Linked DNA regions of Homo sapiens: region 1 is linked to region 2. The links are contacts of gene promoters, found by promoter capture Hi-C in human tissues and cell types (Jung and others, 2019). All regions are on one chromosome and are shown on one strand. Each heading gives the region's core, a stretch centred on a gene start or on the middle of the fragment in contact. The rest is flanking DNA. Distances are from core to core; before and after follow the strand shown.

Region 1 (3,384 bases), core at 679-3,178, 1.0 Mb after region 2:
TAAGCATAAAATAGCATTTCAAAGTCACTTCTAGTTTAAATAGCAGCATGGAACAAAAACCGGGATAATAGGAGAACTGTCTTTATGCAGTTTATCCAGTAGGTGGAGGTATATATCTGTTATATGTTTGTTAGTATATGTTCACCTTCAGCCTGTTGAGAGAAAAATTATGAAAAGTACACAAGCAAAATATTTCCCCTAAGACTTGGCATGATCAATTTTGTTTTACTTTAAAAATAAAAATTAATATATTTAAATAGTTGGTAATTCCACAGGACTAGAGTTACTGATTTACTAATAGGATAAATTGTCTCACTGGATTTGAAACCTTTTACCCAAATGCCAAGTTAGCCCTCTTGTTAAGTTCTTAAATCATCTTAAAATCATTTCTATATTAAATATTTTTGTTTCATAAACTTTTGATAAAAATGTGCAGCATCTTAATATTTTTCCAAATTATGATTATTTTCTTAAAAATTGATCCTTATTATCATACTTTCCAGATGTAATTTAAGGCCTAGAGCAAAGAACAAAAACATGTTTAAGTGGAGAAATTTAGCCCTGACCTCTATTGATTTGAAGTACCAATTTTTTGTTGTTTTTTTAAAGATATTTCAAGGAAACAAAGATTATCACCAGGATGTGCGTAATAACTTTTTGCCACCAATTATTGCACGTTTTATTAGAGTGAATCCTACCCAATGGCAGCAGAAAATTGCCATGAAAATGGAGCTGCTCGGATGTCAGTTTATTCCTAAAGGTAAAGAGACAGTTCGTTTAAGATATGTTTTTACTGGATTGCCAATTTAAAATGGTTTTGCTGTTCTCAGAGAGAGTAATTAATAATGTGAGTGTCTTTCTGGTTAAACTCTAATTACAATATCTTCTTAAAGGGATGTTAAAAAAAATGGTTACCCTATTAAAAAGTTAGTTATAAGAATGGTTTCCAAAATTATAAGTGGAAGAAGAAATAGCATCATTCATAAGATAATGTAAATGAGATCACTTTCCAAATTTAATCTCAATCCTAATAATTTTAAATCAGGTGTCATGTACTGTAATATTTGTTTAACATAAGCATGAAAGATTGTAACAATACATTTAAAGCAAGAATAATTTATCTCAATATTATACATTTTAATATACTGTTTACTTTTGTACGCCCAAAGGCTACCACAGTGCCTGACACATCGTTGGCCCTCCATAAATAACTATTAAATGAATTGAATAAGTACTGTATCAAAATGTGGATGACTCCTTTATAGCTTTAGCATTCAACATCACTTTCCACCCCATTATTCTTCTTCCTAAGATTATTTTCAGATGATTTAATTATTTAAAAACTGAGAAATCCTGGCATATTTGTGCCTTTATTGCAGAGTATAATATTTATCCTTCCAATATATTTCTCTCTGAGAGTTAAAATTATTCTGCAGAATTAAATACTTTAGGAAATATTGAAGACATTTAGCATTACTATTTTTAATTATGATTTTTAAAAACAAAATGTTTAAATTTTTCTAAACCATTTTTCAAGGTCGTCCTCCAAAACTTACTCAACCTCCACCTCCTCGGAACAGCAATGACCTCAAAAACACTACAGCCCCTCCAAAAATAGCCAAAGGTATGCCTGTTTTTAATGTGAGAATTTGATATTCCTTGGATTTATGGTGCAACTTTCCAAAAATATATTAAAAGCATTATCAAATAAGTTTATGTTAATCAAGTTGGTACAGATTAAAAAGTAAAGAGCTTTTGAAACTTTTTTAAAGGTCGTGCCCCAAAATTTACGCAACCACTACAACCTCGCAGTAGCAATGAATTTCCTGCACAGACAGAACAAACAACTGCCAGTCCTGATATCAGAAATACTACCGTAACTCCAAATGTAACCAAAGGTATGCAAACATGGAAATGAACGCCTAGTACATAGTATTGTTTTGTTCTTAACTGAAGTTTTCACGGGCATTTTTAAACCTTCAGTTTATTTTCTTCCAACTATAGTTTTTAAGTATAGCAAAAAAAAAAATTTATTTTCTTTCATAGGAAAAGACTGCATTGATCTAAGTTGTAGTCTCTGCTGCCATGTAGAATTGCTCTTTAAATATTTAGAGAAGGCCACTGTGTTGCAGGCCTCCTCTTGTGATTTATTGTTCCTTACAGCTAAACATGTTGACTCTCAGGCTTAGAAATACAATATTTTCTAGAAATAACTGAAATCATAGCAGGAAACAAACTTGTTTCCCTTGATAATATATTAATTTGATGGATAGGGAACTTGATGGCAAAAAGGGGAAAATAAAAACAGAACTTTTAGTAGAAACTAGTAATTGTTAAAAAATACTCATAGTTAACATATTCATAAAAAAAAACTTTGGTCTCTTTTTAAGTGTTTGCAATTATATTTTTTAAGATCATAAATAGAAATTTATTAGAATTTACTTTCAAGTTTTGTTATCAGTGATAAATAAGGTCTCAAAATACATAAAACATAGTAGTCTTACTAGTTGTTGAAAAACAAAATTTCAATTGAATTCAAAAAAGTGTCAGTGTCATAGTAGACTAAGTATCAGAGTTGTCACATAAAAAGCTTCCTTGTTTTCAGGAAAGTGCAGAGAGAGAAAGCCGTTCATCCAAAGTAATTTGTGCCACATAGAACTTCAGTCATTCTCATTTTTTGAAAGTTTGCCTGGATTCAGATAACTTTCTCTGACTTTCCCCATGTTGGTTCTTTCCCATCTTCTGAAGTATTTTCACAAAGATGAATTACTTTCTCATGCTGCAGGTACAGCTAGAGAGAATCAAGGGTTCTCAGAGGCAGGAGATCTCAGCATCTTTTAACTGCTTACCAGTTGTCAGAAGGCATGTACTAAGGCAGAATCCCAGACCACATGCCTGGATGGAGATCAGTCACTGAAAAGTGTTGCTCATCTTAAAATCTGATTGCATCTCAGACCCTCAAGGCTAAAAAGAGTCCTTAAATAATTTCCTTCCAGAATTAGGATCCCTGTATGCCCAAAAAGAATAACAAAGAATGAGTTGGTCTTCTCAGAGACCTCCTGTCTCTTTTTTAGGGGGATGGTAGTATATAAATTTATTTTTTGAACCTAAGAAGATGTTTTAAAGCCTCTGATTAAATCACACAGCATCCATCTAAACTTGATTATCTTCTCTTGTCTCACTAATCTTATGGAAAAAGCACATTTACCGTTGTGAATTCTGAGTGCTTTCTAGTCTAAGTCATTATTTCTGTTTATGGACTTCTCCATTTTTACAGCCAGGCTGAGAGTGATTTCATGGAAAAGATTATGTCATGGTCAGATTTGTGCCTCTGTAGTTTCCAGGTCCTCCCTCAGTGGGGCCCGTGGCACCAGCTGGCTGACC
Region 2 (3,386 bases), core at 493-2,992:
CCTCTTCTTCAATGTGTGTTCCTAAGAACACGACTTAACTTTTTTCTGTTTCTTCACCTATACAAATGAAGAGAATACTTACCTTTTCGGGATGTTATGAAAGTTAAATCAATTCATATTTATGAAGACATTTGTCACATAATAGATACTCAATACATGTTGACTGCCTTTCTTCCAACGGATGAATAACTTGAAAGTCACACAGCTAGTGAGGACTAGAACCAAGAATTGGGATCCCCTTCACCACTCAAACAGAATTCAACTATTTCTTAAATGGCCTCTGTTCATCTTCAATCATATCATAAAATAGAGCTTTTTAACACCTGAGTTGGGAGGGGTAGTTATTAAAGTAAATGTGGAACACCACAGGGCTGCAAAAGAGTCAGGAAGTTTAATCAAGGAAATGTTGTATTGGCTACCTTTCTAAAAATGACATCTGCTTAGTTTGTACCTGAAGGCTTGACCTTCCGGAAACAATGCAACAAATGAAGTTGGTTATTTTTAATGGATATTTCACAACTAGTATTTCAAGATTGTTTGCAGCAAATAGGTATCAAGTGTCTAACATGTGCAGGGCCCTGTGGATGACAGAAGTATGAATCTGACTTTGGCCCTGTCTTCTCTTGTAGAGAAAAGAGGCAGACCTTGAGGAGTGATAAAAACCAACCAACCAATAATTGCATGGTAGGTGTGATGGAACTTAAAAAGTTCAAGGCTAGCCTGACATGGGGGGTCACTTAACGCTACTCTACTTGGGGATGAAATGCCCACTGCATCAGGAGTTGGTAAACACAGCAGAGCATAGTAGAAACTATTCAAATTGTGTTAACTGAATTCTAGTATTGTTTCTGAAAGGAGCTAGCTTTGTGAACTTGTCAAGTTACTTGACATCTTTAGGTTATGTTTCTCATCTGTAAAATAAGTGAGTTCAAAGGATGATCTCTATTTAAGCCTCCTTCCAGTTCTACTATTCCAAATTCCATGATAATGATGATGACCACAAGAAATACAGTAACTTATATTTACCACACATTATATGTCAAGCACTATGCTAAAGTGCATTACTGTACTAACTTCACTTAATCTTCACAACTTTACGAAATGGACATTATTGTTATCATTATTTTACAGATGAGGAAAAGGAGGCTAAACAGTATCAGAATACTGGAGTCGTGATTTGAATGGAGGGAGTCTGAAGCAGCAACCCCTGCTTCTGACCTCAGTCTGAATTGAAAGCAGTTCATGGGTCACCCTTAACCATCATACAAAGTTGCCTCTCTTCACAAAAACTGTCTTATCCATTCTCAAGAAATAAGGAAAAGAGAAAGCTTGTGGAAAGGATCCTTCCTGGCTGGCAGACAGATCTGAGTTAATGTCACAGCTGTCTGTTTCACGTGTTAAAGAATCTCTTGCACCATTTTCCCCGAGATGCTTGCGCGCTCCCAAGGCGGTGCACACCCCTGCTGGGCAAACACCGCGATCGCCAGAAGCGACCAGGGCTGAGGCGCACGGAAGGGCTCCGGGAGAGGCCCCGTAGGAGCGCGGGCACAGAGTGGGTACCTGGGCTGCTGCCTGCTCCAGTCGGCTGGTTCTCCCACCACTCGTCTCCGAGATCGTCTGCCATTTCAGCTCAGGTCTCGACGTGGGCAGAACATCACGGGTAGGCGACCAGCTGCGGAGAATCACGTTGTCTCAAAGCCAGGCGGCCGGCGTAGCTACACGCGGAGCTCCCGCTAGACACTGTCGCCTCCGCCCCGCGGCGATGACGTCACACCTCTGCCCCGCCTCTCCGGCAGCCGCTCCCAGACTCGTCGCAGTTTCCACACAGGCGCCGACAGGCAGAAGCAGTTTGGAAACGCAACATAAATCCCCCCAAAGCTTAAAGACAAAAAGGAACATAAGACGAAAGGGATTGTCATCGTTTTTGATAATGCATTTTAAAAAATTTTGTTTACGTGTTACGTTTCCCGATAAGATTGTGTCGAAAGTGTGAGACACCATGTGAAGACGATTTTTCTCCGCTCAGTTTCAAAGAACTTGCGCAGCGGGAGAAGACCCAAACATGTGCGTGTGTTTTCGCTTGTGCGTCAGTGTTTCAGAGTTTATGTGTTTGTACAGTTTGCTCTTAGAAAACATGCGCAAGGATCCATGACCATGAATGTCGGGCCTTTGTGGTAAATGTAGTTCTGCTATTTATGCAATATGAGTAAAGAAAATGTAATTGGCCTGGAAAGGCTCGCCCACAGAAAGACGCAAGTGGCTCGAAGACCCGCAAGTTGTTTTCCTCATACTCCCTCGGTTGTGTGTCCCACCCCCTATTTGGGAAACGAAGTAATAAGGGAGTCCATTGCTTCGTAACTATAGGTAAGAGACCCGCAGTGCCTCTTGTCTCAGTCCCAACGTGATTTGGCAGGGAGGGACTAGGAAAACCCGCTGGGCGCCAAGTGCTGGGGCTAGCTGTGAAGTAATTGTGGACGGTATTTTTCAGGACATCAAACACAGACGTAAAAATTATACAAAATGTAGTAAAAGCACGCAACGTGCCTGGTACTATGCATGGAATAGTAAGATGAGTCCATTCAGATGTTAGCCTACAGTAGTGGAAATTCAATTTGTAGGAATAAAGGGCTAGACTTCTAATAGGATACATCCTCGGAAATGACAAGACAGGGAAACTTAATCTGATGAGGCTAGGATTAGCCATATGTGGAAAATTACCCCGTGTGCACCCAACTCATAGATGTTTTATAAATGCATTACTGCCTAGACTTTGTCCGCACACTCTAAATGCCCCAAAAGGGAAGATATTATGTATAAATATGGCAAATGTAAAATAATCTATAAAGATCAAAAGTAATATGGCTTTTGTGAAGAAATGTAGATGACGAGATTTTCGTGATTAATAGATTTTTGAAAAAGATAAGAAATGCCAGTGTGGAAGAGGAGTTGCTATGGCTAATAAACATGAAAAGAATTCAGTCTGATTATTAATCTGGGAAATACAAAAAAAACACCACAGCGAGACCGTTTTTCAGGCAATAAATCACAAAATTAAGAAGTATGGGCCGGGCGCGGTGGCTCAAGCCTGTAATCCCAACGCTTTGGGAGGCCGAGGTGGGTGAATCACCTGAGGTCAAGAATTCCAGACCAGCCTGGCCAAAATGGCGAAACCCATCTCTACTAAAAATACAAAAATTAGCCGGGCATGGTGGCAGGCGCCTGTAATTCCAGCTACTTGAGAGTCTGAGGTAGGCGAATTGCTTAAACCCGGGAAGTGGAGGTTGCGGTGAGCCGAGATGGTGCCATTACACTCCAGCCTGGTTGACAAAAGCGAAACTCGGTCTCAAAAAAAAAAAAAAAAAAAAAAAAAAGAAGTCTGGCAATAC

Evidence for each region. Contacts are between HindIII fragments. The study calls those that stand out against the background at their distance.
Region 1: a contact is called between a fragment that was not itself captured here and the fragment with the promoter of CMSS1 in region 2, in 1 of the 25 tissues and cell types used here (heart left ventricle).

Annotation. Positions count from the first base shown.
Region 1 is chr3:98,809,708-98,813,091 of GRCh38, reverse strand. It overlaps DCBLD2 (discoidin, CUB and LCCL domain containing 2), which reads left to right. Exons shown (of 16, transcript NM_080927.4): 10 at 610-760; 11 at 1,538-1,624; 12 at 1,773-1,898. Among named protein-coding and RNA genes, the nearest start is that of ST3GAL6, 48 kb to the right of the region's middle. The HindIII fragment of the contact is 5,631 bases long and covers 1-3,384 here.
Region 2 is chr3:99,816,218-99,819,603 of GRCh38, reverse strand. It overlaps CMSS1 (cms1 ribosomal small subunit homolog), which reads right to left and starts at 1,742. Exons shown (of 10, transcript NM_032359.4): 1 at 1,561-1,742. The coding sequence starts at 1,624. It overlaps HP09053 (a long non-coding RNA gene), which reads left to right. Exons shown (of 3, transcript NR_110821.1): 2 at 630-684; 3 at 1,132-2,972. It overlaps LOC105374010 (a long non-coding RNA gene), which reads right to left and starts at 1,742. Exons shown (of 5, transcript NR_189163.1): 1 at 1,561-1,742. RefSeq lists enhancers at 1,476-1,785, 1,017-1,891 and a silencer at 1,307-2,061. The HindIII fragment of the contact is 4,697 bases long and covers 214-3,386 here.